5 separate regions of the Homo sapiens genome follow, and regions 2, 3, 4 and 5 are each linked to region 1. The links are contacts of gene promoters, found by promoter capture Hi-C in human tissues and cell types (Jung and others, 2019). All regions are on one chromosome and are shown on one strand. Each heading gives the region's core, a stretch centred on a gene start or on the middle of the fragment in contact. The rest is flanking DNA. Distances are from core to core; before and after follow the strand shown.

Region 1 (2,843 bases), core at 204-2,703:
TTTTCAAAAATGCCTGTGTTTAAAAGCGACTGGCAAAATTTCTAAGCCTTCCGGCCAGGCACGATGACACAAGCCTGTAATCCCAGCACTTTGGGAGGCCGAGGCAGGCAGGTGGATCGCCTGAAGTCTGGAGTTCGAGACCAGCCTGACCAACATAGAGAAACCCTGTCTCTACTAAAATTACAAAAAATTAGCCGGGCGTGATGGCGCATGCATGTAATCCCAGCTACTCGGGAGGCTGAGGCAGGAGAATCGCTTGAACCTGGGAGTCGGAGGTTGCAGTGAGCTGAGATCGCGCCATTGCACTCCAACCCGGGCAATAAGAGCGAAACTCCGTTTCCAAAACAAAAAAAAAATTTCTAAGCCTTCCTCAACTGTCCCTAGTTAGCCTATAATCAGCACATTTTTCAGCACACAAGGGTTAAGCGACTTGTTGAACTAGCTAATAAATCAGTCTACTACTCCAAAACGCATCTGTAGAACCTAACATAGTGCCTGGAAAATAGTTGGCGTTTAACAAACAACTGCCAGAATAAATTTTTTAAAAAATACACATTTAACACTCTTTAAAAACATAAAAGGTACCAGCCTGGGCAACATGGCGAAACCCCGTCTCTACTAAAAGTACAAAAACTTAGCCGGGTGTGGTGGCGCGCACCTGTGGTCCCAGCTACTCTGGAGCCCGGGAGGTCCAGGCTGCAGTGAGCTGAGATTGCGCCACTGCACTCCAGCCTGGGCGACGGCACTGAGACCCTGTCTCAAAAACAAAAAACATAAACATTTTGGGCAGGGTGCGGTGGCTCACGCCTGTAATCCCAGCATTTTGGGAAGCCGAGGCGGGCGGATCACCTGAGGTCAGGAGTTCGAGACCAACCTGGCCAACATGGTGAAACCCCATCTCTACTAAAAATACAAAAAAAAAAAAAAAAAAAAAATAGCCGCGCGTGGTGGTGGGCGCCTGTCATCCCAGCTACCCAGGAGGCGGAAGTTGCAGTGAGCCAAGATCGCGCCACTGCACTCCAGCCGGACGACAGAGCGAGACTCCGTCTCAAAAAAAATAAAAATAAAAATAAAAATAAACATTTTGGCATTGAAAACATACACGCAAGAGTGAATTTAACATCTGTTTAAAAGTCTCTCACAATCCCAGGAAGGCGACTACTTCCGCTTCTACTTTCAGCAGCGTTTCAGCCCCGCTATAGCGGCGCGGCTTCACAAAACACCTGCGATCGTAGAAGGTTTCGCCCCACCTTCTGCATACGCAGCTTGAGGCGCCCGCTTTCCGTCGCTCCGGCCCGCCTCGCCGCAAGGCTTTCTGGGAGCCGTAGTCCCCACGTCTGGCCTCTCCGGCGCCAGCGGCAGCGCGCGCCCACCCGCGGAACTACAGAGCGTGGCGCACAGCGCGCGAGGCTCCTCCGCCTCGCCTTCCCTCCCCGCCCGCGCGCCCGCCCCAGTTATCATGGCGGCTCCCTTGGTCCTGGTGCTGGTGGTGGCTGTGACAGTGCGGGCGGCCTTGTTCCGCTCCAGTCTGGCCGAGTTCATTTCCGAGCGGGTGGAGGTGGTGTCCCCACTGAGCTCTTGGAAGAGAGGTGAGGCCACTGGCTCGAGCAGACTGTCAGGCCCCACCTGCCCTCCCGCGGCCTCTGTGAATGGGAGGCGGGGGCAGTGACCGCCAGCGCGCGGTTCCTAGAGAACTAACTGACTGTCTCGTGGGGTTCTTGGAGAGGGCGGGGCCTGAGGGCGGGGCTGGTGAGGGGAGGGGGCGTGGGGACCGGGGCGTGGGGACAGTGTCGTGAGGTTTGGGCCCTGGGGGCCGGACCACCTAGTGGTGGGGATCTGAGGGGGCGTGTCCCATTCAGTGTCCTGAGCCGAGGAGTGTGGTCTGTGGGAAGGGTTGGAATAAGAGGAGGAGGTGCTTGTGGAGCGCGGCTTGCAGAGGAGTTTGGGATTTGGGGCGGGATCGCCAGGGGTGCTCCCTGGGATAAAAGGTTATGTGTGAGGGGGTCCGGGATGAGGGGACCAATTTTGCTTAAGCGAGGAGAGTGTGCGTGTGCTTTAGACGTCTCTTCTCAGTCTGGGACTTGCAGGGCAATTTTTGTTACTGTTCCTTACTAAGTTCTTCACCGAACATTGTTTTATACTAACGCCTACAGCGAGAAAGCGAAGTTGGCCTGAAGTAGCTGCACAGGCTAGTGAGGGAGACAAATCGTTATAATAATTCATGAAAAGTATACTTTATGTGTCCACCCAGTTCCTTCCTTAGTATTCTGACCCTGAATAAACTATCCCCTACCTTTCCAGTTTTCCAGAATGTGGGATTTGAGCTGACTCTTGAAGGATGTAGGGTTTTGAAAGGGAGATTAGAGAAAAGGAGAGTTCCAGGTAGCAGAAAGTAAATAGGATGAAGAAACGTTCAAGGATGTGAAATGTCCAAAGCAGGGGAGTAATGGGGTGGAAGCTAGGTTTAGGCCAGAGTTTGATGATTAAAAAAAAACAAACAACTTTTTTTTTTTTTTTTTTACTGAAGTACAGTATACATACAATGCATATTAAGTAAGTGTAGAGTTCAATGAATTTTTAAAAACTGTATTCACTCATGTAGCCAGCACCTAGTTCAAGAAACAGTATCAGCACCCCAGAAGTCCCCTTTGTGTCCTTTAAATGCTAAAGTTTTTTTGTTTTTGTTTTTGTTTTTTGTTTAGAGACAGGGTCTTTCTATGTTGCCCAGGCTGGTCTGGAACTCCTGGACTCAAGCAGTCTCACTTGGCCTCCCAAAGTGCTGGGATTTCAGGCGTGAGCCATGGCACCTGGCCAAGGCTAACGTTTTGATGTTATCCCATAGA
Region 2 (2,843 bases), core at 239-2,738, 500 kb after region 1:
GTAGTAAATTCCCTTAAGCTCTATCTCCTCCACTTCTTTCTTTCAACTCACTAAAAGAGGAGTCACTCCCTGTGTTCAAGCCCCACCCTTCTACTAGACCTCTTCGTTACACCTCTTTGCCCATCTTTTCTCTCTGTCTTTTTTTTTTTTTTTTTTTTTAAACGGAGTCTCGCTCTGTCGCCAGGCTGAAGTGCAGTGGCGCAATCTGGGCTCACTGCAACCTCTGACCTCTGCCACCCAGGTTCAAGTGATTCTCCTGCCTCAGCTTCCCAAGTGGCTGGGACTACAGGCACATGCCACCATGCCCAGCTAATTTTTGTATTGTTTAATAGAGACGGGGTTTTACCGTGTTGGCCAGCATGGTCTCAATCTCTTGACCTCGTGATCCTCCTGCCTCGGCCTCCCAAAGTGCTGGGATTACAGGCATGAGCCACCATGCCCGGCCTTCTCTCTTCTATATTTACCTTCTTTGTGGAAATAGAACACTTTGGCTAAGCTCTTCAGTCTTGTTTTTTCTATTGTTCTTTTCTCCCTTCCCTCCTCCTGCCTTCCACACCCCTTCTCAAATTCCACTCTATTTCCTTTTTCAGCCCAACACTGCAGTGAAAAAGAGACAGTCTGTCGTCTTCCAGGAGCTTAGAGATTAGTGGGGGCCACAGATTAATAAACCAAGGAAGAGAAGGACATTTCCAGACAGACAATAGCATATGTAAAGGCATAGAGGCCAGAGCAGTACAGCTCTTTCCACGAACTGTACCATGTGGTTAGAGGACTGGGAACAGATGTGGAGGATAGGGTGCCGAGATTGGAGAGAGTGAAAAGGGTCACATATGCCATGCTAACAAAGCTTTACTTGCAGTGCTAAGAGCCTGGATTTTAGTCAATGGTCAGTGAAGAGTTCTCTAACAGTGGTGAAGAGGAAAAGACTGGTGGGGAATTATATTAGAGGCAGGGCAATTAGTTGGAGATTATTGTAAAAGTTCAGCTAAGAAATGAAGAGGACCTAACCTAAGGCACTGGAGATGAAGAAGATTTTTTTCTTTAACAATAGCTTTAAGCAAATTGATTATAAAGTTCCTTGGTGTCATTTTCTTCATGCTTCCCATGTAGGGTTTGTTGAACTTCTTGGGTCTATGGGTTTATAGTTTTCATCAAATTTGAAAAATTTTGGGTCTTTATCTGCTCATTACTATTTGGTCATTATTTCTTTTTTTTCTGTACCCTCCCTTCTCCTTTGGGGTCTCTAATTACACATATATTAGGCCACCTGATGTTGTCTCAAGGCTCGCTGATGTGCTCTTTTTAAAGTCTTTTTTCTCTATGTGTTTCATTTCTTATTGTTTTTATAGCTATGTCTTCAAGTTATTTAGTCTTTCCTTTGGCAATGTTTAATTTGCTGTTAATCTTATCCATTGTATTTTTCATATCAAATACCATATTTTTCATCTCTAGAAGTTAGACTTAGATCTTTTAAAATAACTTCCATGACTCTACTTATCATTTTCAATCTTTCCTCTAGCTTCTTGAACATGTGGAATACAGTTATAAGAACTGTTTTAATGTCTCTGTCTACCAATTCTATCTTCTGTATAATTCTTGATCTGTTTTATTGATTTGATTTTTCTCCTCATTATGGATCACATTTTCCTGTTTCTTTGCAGGCCTGATAACTTTTTTTGAATGTCAGACATAGTGAATTTTATCTTGTTGGGGCTGGTACTCTGAGGATTGTTCCTTCTGCTCTTTTCTGGTGCTACTTTCTCCAGCCTCAGGTAGTTTCTTCAAACTTCTGTTCTGATCAGCACTAATTTCAGGAGGGGGACTAGAGAATAGGAAACAGGGGTAAAAGTCCAGGAAGTAAGTACGCTTAACTTTCTGAATTTCTCATATTGTTAGGCTAACAGAATTAAGTCTCGCTAGGATTCTTGGTAGATCTTAAGGAAATACTGCCATGCTGTAAAAGGACTGAAAAAAGATCAAACTTTAAGAATAGGTCACAGCCTATGATGAGAAGGGTCAAAAGTCAATTCATAAATAAATGACCCAGGAAGTCCCTGGATTGTTCTCTCTACTCTAGAGTCCTTTCTTTATTTGCACGACTAGGTGCTAACTTTGTTCCAGGTCTAAAACGTTTACCTCCTAATTCTAAGGGTGATGATCTTATCAACTCTAATCCTATCTTAAGGGACCAATTTGATTTTTGTATCTCACTGTATGAGTCAGAGAAAAAAGATTTTCTTTGTACATTTGAAAAGTTATTTGTGATTAAGACGTTACTGCTAAGCCCATATTTTTGATAACTCGCCAGGGATAGATTCTATTGACAATTATGAGTGTATGATGCCTTAATTTGTAACTTTTTTTTTTGAGATGGAGTCTCAAAGTCTCCCAGGCTGGAGTGCAGTGGCACGATCTGGGCTCACTGCAAGCTCCGCCTCCCGGTTTCACGCGATTCTCCTGCCTCAGCCTCCCAAGTAGCTGGGACTACAGGCGCCTGCCACCATGTCTGGCTAATTTTTTGTATTTTTAGTAGAGACGGGGTTTCACCGTGTTAGCCAGGATGGTCTCGATCTCCTGACCTCGTGATCCGCCTGCCTCGGCCTCCCAAAGTGCTGGGATTACAGGCAATGAGCCACTGCACCCAGCCAACTTTTTATTTAAGGATGAAAGTGTGGGAAAATGTAAGCTGTTCCTGGAATATGATGAATATACTTTTCAAATCAACACACTCTTTCAGAGACGTTTTTCTTTACATAGAAGAGCAACTAGGCAGCCCTAGCACATTTTAAGAAAAGGGTTTAATAGCAGAAGCTCCAAGACTACCCCAAAGTAGTCAGATTCCA
Region 3 (2,843 bases), core at 156-2,655, 470 kb after region 1:
ACTTTTTTGTCTAGCTAAAGTATTGTAAATGCACCAATCAACACTCTGTGTCTAGCTAAAGGATTGTAAAAGCACCAATCAGCACTCTGTAAAACGGCAAAATCAGCGCTCTGTAAAATGGAGAAATCAGCGCTCTGTAAAATAGACCAAGCGACAGGATGTGGGTGGGGCCAAATAAGGGAATAAAAGCAGGCAACCAGAGCCAGTAGCAGCAACCCGTTTGGGTCCCCTTCCACGCTGTGGAAGCTTTGTTCTTTCGCTCTTCGCAATAAATCTTGCTGCTGCTCACCCTTTGGGTCTGCACTACCTTTATAAGCTGTAACACTCACCGAGAAGGTCTGCAGCTTCACTCCTGAAGCCAGCGAGACCACGAGCCCAGCGGGAGGAATGAACAACTCCGGATGCGCCGCCTCTATGAGCTGTAACACTCACCACGAAGGTCTGCAGCTTCACTCCTGAAGCCAGTGAGACCACAAACCCATTGGGAGGAATGAACAGCTCTGGACGTGATGCCTTTAAGAGCTGTAACACTCACTGTGAAGGTCTGCAGCTTCACTCCTGAAGTCGGCAAGACCACGAACCCACCAGAAGGAAGAAACTCCGGACACATCTGAACAACTGAAGGAACAAACTCCGGACACACCATCTTTAAGAACTGTAACACTCACCGTGAGGGTCCATGGCTTCATTCTTGAAGTCAGCGAGACCAAGAACCCACCAATTCCAGGCACACTTGTACTTGGTAGCACAATAGGGTGAGTATAATTAAGTATAATTTATTGTACCTTTCAAAATAACTAGAAGAGTAGATTTGGAATGTTCCCAACACAAATAAATGATAAATGCTTGAGGTGATGGATATTCCATTATCCTGATTTGATCATTACACATTATATGCTTGTATCAAAGTATCACATGTACCACATAAATTGTACAACTATTACCTATCCATAAAAATAGAAAATAAATAAAATGAATAAAGTGTAAAAATCACAGGCTCATTTTAACTGATGAGAAAAATACATTTCATAAAATTCACCATCTGTTAATGTTTAAAAATTATATCAAACTAGAATTAGAAGAAAAATTCCTCAATCTGATAAAGAGTAACTACAAAAAGTAAACTCCAGCAACCATCATATTTAACTGAAATTATTGAGTGCTTTCTTTCTATCAGAACTAAGATAAGGATGCCTGCTATTTTCACTTTTATTCATCATTGTTCTTAAGGTTTTACCCAGTCCAATAATTCAAGAAAAAGAAGTTAAAAAACGGGCCAGGAGCAGTGGCTCACACCTGTAATCCCAGCACTTTGGGAGGCCAAAGTGGGTAGATCACCTGAGGTCAGGAGTTCAAGATCAGCCTAACCAACATGGAGAAACCCCATTTTTACTAAAAATACAAAATTAGCCAGCATGGTGGCGTGTGCCTATAATCCCAGCTACTCGGAAGGCTGAGGCAGGAGAATCGCTTTAACCCACGAGGCGGAGGTTGCGGCGAGCCAAGATTGCACCATTGCACTCCAGCCTGGACAACAAGTGCAAAACTCCGTCTCAAAAAAAAAAAAAAATTAAAAAAATAACTATCTGAAAGAAATCACTACACACACTACACATACTACATGATTGTGAATCTATAAATAAACTATAAGAATTATTAAGTTAATTAAGCAGGGTTGCTGTATGCAAGTATAAATACAAAATTTTAATTATTATGTCAATATGCCAGCATCAAACAACTAAAAATGAACATTAAAATATGCCATTTATGGCCGGGCGTGGTGGCTCACGCCTGTAATCCCAGAACTTTGAGGCCAAGGCAGGTGGATCACCTGAGGTCAGGAGTTCGAGACCAGCCTGGCCAACATGGTGAAACAACCCCATCTCTACTAAAAATACAAAATTAGCCGGGTATGGTGGCGTGTGCCTGTAATCCCAGCTACTTGGGAGGCTAAGGCAGGAAAATTGCTTGAACCTAGGAGGCAGAGGTTGCAGTGAGGCAGGATCGTGCCATTGCACTCCAGCCTGGGCAAAAAAGAGCGAAACTCCATCTCAAAAAATAAATAAATAAATAAAATTAAAATACGCCACTTATAAGGCTGGGTGCATTGGCTCATGCCTGTAATCTCAGCACTTTGGGAGGCCGAGGTGGGAGGATCACTTGAAGTTAGGCGTTCGAGACCAGCCAGGCCAACGTGGCGAAACCCTGTCTCTACAATAATGCAAAGATTAGCCACGTGTGGTGGCAGGTGCCTGTAATCCCAGCTCCTTGGGAGGCTGAGGCATGAGAATCACTTGAACCCAGGAGGCAGAGGTTGCAGTGTGCCAAAATCATGCCACTGCACTCCAGCTTGAGTGACAGAGTGAAACCGTGTCTCAAAAAATATATATATAATATACATATATATATGCCACTTATAAAATAAATAGAAAATAATTGGGAATAAATCCAATGAATAATATACCAGGTTTCTACATAGAAAACTATAAAACATCAAAAAATTTTAATAAGACTTCAACTAGTGAAGGGATATACCATATTCATGGATAAAAAAATTTAATATTGTAAAGACTTTCATATTAATTGATGGACAGATTTAATGTAATCCCAATAAAAATTCCAGCAGGGTTTTTTTTGGTAGAATTTATAAAGTTATCCTAAAGTTTATGTGGAAATATAGAAGTTCAAGAATAGCCAAGGCTCACGCCTGTAATCCCAGCACTTTGGGAGGCCGAGGCAGGCAGATCATGAGGTCAGGAGATTGACACCATCCTGGCTAACGCGGTGAAACCCCGTCGCTACTAAAAATACAAAAAATTAGCCGGGCGTAGTGGCGGGCGCCT
Region 4 (2,843 bases), core at 187-2,686, 350 kb after region 1:
ACTGTGTAATGTTTATATATATATATATCCCCCCTCTAGGACATTAGCTCCTCAAGGACAGGGCTTCGCTCACTGCTGTAGCACAGTTCCTGGCCCTTAGTAGTGTTAAAAGAAAAACTAGCTGAATTAAACGTAAAAGAGTTTAATTGAGCAAAGAATGGGCAGCCTCCCAAGCCAGTGTAGGCTCAGAGACTCCCACGCAGCTGTCACTGGAAAGGGGTCCTAATCTAGCTAGACTCCAAGAGACGGTTCTTGGACCTCACGCAACAAAGAATTCAGGGCAAGTCCACAAAGTGAAAAGTTTATTAAGAAAGTAAAGGAATAGGGCCGGGTGCGGTGGCTCACGCCTGTAATCCCAGCACTTTGGGAGGCTGAGGCAGGCGGATCAAGAGGTCAGGAGATTAAGACCATCCTGGCTAACACAGCGAAAGCCCGTCTCCACTAAAAATACAAAAAATTATCCAGCCGTGGTGGCATGCACCTGTAATCACAGCTACTCAGGAGGCTGAGGCAGGAGAATTGCTTGAACCTGTGGGGCAGAGGTTGCAGTGAGCCGAGATCGCGCCACTGCACTCCCGCCTGAGCGACAGAGTAAGACTTGTCTCAGAAAAAAAAAAAAGAAAGTAAAGGAATAAAAGAGTGGCTACTCCATAGGCAGAGCAGCAGCATGGGCTGCTCAACTGATTATACTTATCATTATTTCTTGACCATATGCTAAACAAAGGGTGGATTATTCATGAGTTTCCTGGGAAAGGGTTGTGCAATTCCTGGAAGTGAAGTTTCCTTCCCTTATAGAGTAACTTCCAGCTGTTGCCATGCATCTGTAAACTGTCGTGGCACTGGCGAGACTGTTTCTTAGCATGCTAATGCATTATAATTAGCGTATAATGAACAGTGAGGACGACCAGAGGGCACTTTCATGTCATCTTGGTTTTTGGTGGGTTTTGGCTGGCTTCTTTACTGTATCCTGTTTTATCAGCAAGGTCTTTGTAACCTGTATCTTATGCTGACCTATCTCATCCTGTGACTTAGAATGCCTAACTTCCTGGAATGCAGCTCAGCAGGGTCTCAGCCTTATTTTACCCAGCCCCTATTCAAGATGGTGTTGCTCTGGTTCGACCTATGAGTATAGCCTATGACACAGCCACGTGGTGGAAGAAGATTTATGAACAGAAAAAGGAAAATGTTGTTTCTGTAGAAACAACCAGATTGGTTATAGCATGGCGTTTTTGTCTTATTTGAACACGGTTTGAATAGCTGGCCACACCTGATTGGCAAAACTCGGTGACTGGCACAAGAGTAGGCTGCAGTCTGTTTACAATTCCATTTAGGTTATAGTTCACAATGTACAGAGAAACCTTTAGGCTGAACTTCAAAATATGTGAGGAGTCAGGTTTAGGCTAAACTTCACTTAAAAGTCAGTACTGAGTAAATGTTTGTTGTATGAATGAACGAATTAACCACTAATTATGATGGGGATGAGGAGGAAGAAGGCCCAGATGTGCAGCTGTCATCTAAACTAAGAAGGCAACTGTGCGTGGGAAGCACTTGACCCTAATAGGGTCCCTGGCTCCTTGCCTGAGTGAGATTAGGAACTTCAGAAAAGCTTTTCTCCACACCCCTCCACCTGGCTCGCCTCATCTTCCCAGCTGGTCACAGTACCCAGAGGTTCATTTGCTTTGAACATCTCTGTAAAGCTCTGAAAGTGTTCTTTGTTTCGACATTTTCTCATTTTTTGCAAGTATCAGGCATGGACAAGCACCTTCTGGAAAACACATAACACTCATACACACATACACACTCAATCTAACACACATGCTTGGCCATATCTCATATTCTTATAACCCTCACCAGCTAACTTACCCACACACAGTCCTAATTATGCACAGTTGTAGACACACATGCTTACACTTGACCTCAAGGTCTCACTCCTCTGTCCCACACACTCACAGACATCCATAGTGTTACAGGAAAGGGGTCCCGATCCAGACCCCAAAGAGGGTTCTTTGATCTCACGCAAGAAAAAATTCAGGGCAAGCCCATAAAGTGAAAACAAGTTTATTAGGAAAGTAAAAGAATAAAAGAATGACTACTCCATAGGCAGAGCAGCCCCAATGGCCGCTGGTTGCCCATTTTTATGGTTATTTCTTGATTATATGCTAAACAAGGGGTGGATGATTCATCCCTCCCCTTTTAGACCTTATAGGATAACCTCCTAACATTGCAAAGGCATTTGTAAACTGTCATGGCTGCAGTGGGAATGTAGCAGTGAGGACGACCAGAGGTTACTCTCGTGGCCATCTTGGCTTTGGTGGGTTTTGGTGGCTTCTTTACTGCAACCTGTTTTATTAGCAAGGTATTTATGACCTGCATTTTGTGCAGATCTCCTATGTTATTCTGTGACTTAGAATGCTTTAAACCTGCCAATCACGGTGGCTCACACCTGTAATCCCAGCACTTTGTGAGGCCAAAGCAGGCAGATCACCTGAGGTCAGGAGTTCGAGACCAGGCTGGCCAACATGGTGAGACCCCCAGTCTGTACTAAAAGTACAAAAAATTAGCCAAGCGTGGTGGTGCACACCTGTAATCCCAGTTACTTGGGAGGCTGAGGCAGGAGAATCGCTTGAACCTGGGAGGTGGAGTTGTAGTGAGCCGAGATCACGCCATTGCACTCCAGCCTGGGTGACAAAAGAGAAACTCCACCTCAAAAAAAAAAAAAAAAAAAAAAAAGAATGCCTTAAACCATCTGGGAATGCAGCCCAGCAGGTCTCAGCCTCTCATTTTACCCATTTCCTCTTTAAGATGGAGTCCCTCTGGTTCACACGTCTCTGACAATAGCACTG
Region 5 (2,843 bases), core at 253-2,752, 330 kb after region 1:
CTTAATCTATAAAAGGAAAAATTGGTCAATGAAACCATCAAAATTCAAATTTTTCTGTATCTTAAAAGACACCATTTGCTTTCTGTGTTACCCATGGAGGGGTCCATGTGACGTTGTTCTGGATTCCCATTGTAACTTCAAGGGAAACTTTCACAATGTCCAGAGCCCTTGATGTCCTGCCAATGAAGAAAGAGGATGTCTTCAAGTTCCTTGTAGCAGGATAGCAGGAACCCACTTAGGTGGCATCAGCCTTGACTTCCAAATGGAACAGCACTTTTTTTTTGGAGACAGTCCAGCTCTGTCACCCAGGCTGGAATGCAGTGATGCGATCTCAGCTACTGCAACCTCCGCCTCCTGGGTTCAAGCGATTCTCCTGCCTCAGCCTCCCTAGTAGCTGAGATTACAGGTGCCTGCCACCATGCCCAGCTAATTTTTGTATTTTTAGTAGAGATGGGGTTTCACTGTGTTGGCCAGGCTGGTCTCGAACTCCTGACCTCATGATCTGCCCACCTCGGCCTCCCAAGTGCTGGGATTACAGGCGTGAGCCACTGCGCTCGGCCACTTTTTTTTTTTTTTTGAGACAAAGTCACACTTTTGGCCAGGCTGGAGTGCAGTGGCGCCATATCGGCTCACTGCAATCTCTGCCTCCTGGATTCAAGCGATCCTCCTGCCTCAGCCTCCCAAGTACCTGGGATTACAGGCACACGCCACCATGCCTGGCTAATTTTTGTATTTTTAGTAAAGATAGGGTTTCACCATGCTGGCCAGGCTGGTCTCAAATTCCTGACCTCGTGATCAGCCCACTTCGGCCTCCCAAAGTGCTGGGATTGCAGGCGTGAGCCACTGAGCCCAGCAACTTTTGTATTTTTAGTAGAGGTAGGTTTTACCATGTTGACCAGGCTGGTTTCCAACTCCTGACTTCAAGTGATCTACCTGCCTTGGCCTCCCAAAGTGCTGGGAATACAGGCGTGAGCCACTGAGCCCAGCCCTAGAGCTAGCATTTAATCCAACTTGGGGGATAAGGGAAGTATCTAAAGCAATAAGAATATATTTTGTTGGCTGGGCGCAGTGGCTCATGCCTGTAATCCCAGCACTTTGGTAGGCCGAGGCAGGCGGATCATGACATCAGGAGATCGAGACCAGCCTGGCCAATGTGGTGAAACCCCGTCTCTACTAAAAACACAAAAAATTAGCCGGGTGCGGTGGCATATGCCTGCAGTCCCAGCTACTCAGGAGGCTGAGGCAGGAGAATTGCTTAAACCTAGGAAGCGGAGGTTGCAGTGAGCCGAGATTGCATCACTGCACTCCAGCCTGGGCAATAGAGCGAGACTCTGTCTCAAAAAAAAAAAATCTTTTGTTAAAATATTTGGCCTTTTGTCCTAGATCTTTGAAACCCCTCTTGGAATAGCTTCAGTGCCAGAAGGTGAAAGATAAAAATATTGTTATTTAAAACAATCCCTTTTCAAACACACTTGAGTTTATATTTTGTTTTGTTTTGAGAGGGAGTCTCGCTCTGTCACCAGGCTGGAATGCAGTGGTGCGATCTCCACTCACTGCAACCTCTGCCTCCCTGGTTAAAGAGATTCTTGTGCCTCAGCCTCCTGAGTAGCTGGGATTACAGGCACGTGCCACCACACCTGGCTAGTTTTTTGTTTTTTTTTTTTTTTTTTTTTTTTTAGTAGAGACGGGGTTGCACCATGTTGGCCAGGATGGTCTCAATCTCCTCACCTCATGATCCGCCCGCCTTGGTCTCCCAAAGTGCTGAGATTACAGGTGTGAGACACAGCGCCCGGCAGAATTTATGTTAATGACAGGATTCGGGGAAAGTTCCAAGATAACCACAGGATGGGAGAGTGGCTGCCAGAGGATCCAACCATTAGTTCAAAGGGTTGAAACTTTCAGCCCCACCCCCAACCTCCAGGGAGGGTCTCTAAGTGAAGTTAATCACCAATGGCCAATTATTTATCAATCATGCTTACCTAATGATGCTTTTTTTTTTGAGACAAGAGTCTCACTCTGTTTCCCAGGCTGGAGTGCAATGGCGTGATCTCAGCTCACTGCAATCTCCACCTCCAAGGTTCAAGCAATTCTTGTGCCTCAATCTCCCAAGTAGTTGGGACTACAGGCACCTGCCACCACAACCAGCTAATTTTTGTATTTTTAATATAGATGGGGTTTCACCGTGTTGGCCAGGCTGGTCTCGAATTCCCGACCTTAGGTGGTCTACCTGCCTAGGCCTCCCAAAGTGCTGGGATTACAGGTGTGAGCCTCTGGGCCCAGCCTGACGCTTCCATTATAAACCAAAGCGACTGGGTTCAGAGAGCTTCTAAATAGCTGAACACCTGTAGGCTTCCAGGAAGGTGAATGAGAGCACATCCACACGCAGGAGGAGGAGGTGACACCCCATCTCCATAGGGATAAAAGCTCCCGTGCTCCAGACCCTTTCAGACTTTACCCTTTGTTCTCTCCATCTGGCTGTTTATTTGTAGCGTTTGTAATGTATATGTTTCCCTGAGTTCTGTAAGTCCCTCTACCAAATTAATGGAACCCAGGGAGGGAGTTGTGGGAATCCTGATTTATGGCTGGTTAGTTTGAAGTTCTGGAGGCCTGGACTTATTACTGGCATCTGAAGTGAGGATAGTCTTGGGGACTGAGCACTCAACCTATGGGACCTGGTGTTATTTTCAGGTGGATAGTATCAGAGTTTATTTGGACTAGAAAACACCCAGCTGGTGTCCACTGCAGAACTGACTGATTGCCTGATGTGTGGGGAAAACCCCTATACATCTTGTGTCAGAGGCCTGTTGTGAGTATAGTGGGAGAAACTGAGTTTGTTTTTTCTG

The links. The method cuts DNA at HindIII sites, captures the fragments that hold promoters and counts their contacts. A contact is called where the count stands out against the background at its distance.
Region 2: a fragment that was not itself captured here is called in contact with the fragment with the promoter of PIGU in region 1 in 2 of the 25 tissues and cell types used here (IMR-90 fibroblasts and dorsolateral prefrontal cortex).
Region 3: a contact is called between a fragment that was not itself captured here and the fragment with the promoter of PIGU in region 1, in 1 of the 25 tissues and cell types used here (mesendoderm cells).
Region 4: a fragment that was not itself captured here is called in contact with the fragment with the promoter of PIGU in region 1 in 1 of the 25 tissues and cell types used here (mesenchymal stem cells).
Region 5: a contact is called between a fragment that was not itself captured here and the fragment with the promoter of PIGU in region 1, in 3 of the 25 tissues and cell types used here (dorsolateral prefrontal cortex, hippocampus and spleen).

What each region holds. Positions count from the first base shown.
Region 1 is chr20:34,675,702-34,678,544 of GRCh38, reverse strand. PIGU (phosphatidylinositol glycan anchor biosynthesis class U) reads left to right here and starts at 1,453. Exons shown (of 12, transcript NM_080476.5): 1 at 1,453-1,589. The coding sequence starts at 1,460. RefSeq lists enhancers at 213-1,098, 1,099-1,985 and silencers at 1,384-1,493, 1,734-1,833. The HindIII fragment of the contact is 20,123 bases long and covers 1-2,843 here.
Region 2 is chr20:34,173,220-34,176,062 of GRCh38, reverse strand. No RefSeq gene overlaps it. Among named protein-coding and RNA genes, the nearest start is that of EIF2S2, 62 kb to the right of the region's middle. The HindIII fragment of the contact is 6,088 bases long and covers 1-2,843 here.
Region 3 is chr20:34,202,950-34,205,792 of GRCh38, reverse strand. It overlaps a transcript of ASIP not described here. Among named protein-coding and RNA genes, the nearest start is that of ASIP, 37 kb to the left of the region's middle. The HindIII fragment of the contact is 6,854 bases long and covers 1-2,843 here.
Region 4 is chr20:34,321,193-34,324,035 of GRCh38, reverse strand. No RefSeq gene overlaps it. Among named protein-coding and RNA genes, the nearest start is that of AHCY, 19 kb to the right of the region's middle. The HindIII fragment of the contact is 4,210 bases long and covers 1-2,843 here.
Region 5 is chr20:34,345,098-34,347,940 of GRCh38, reverse strand. No RefSeq gene overlaps it. Among named protein-coding and RNA genes, the nearest start is that of ITCH, 17 kb to the left of the region's middle. The HindIII fragment of the contact is 6,422 bases long and covers 1-2,843 here.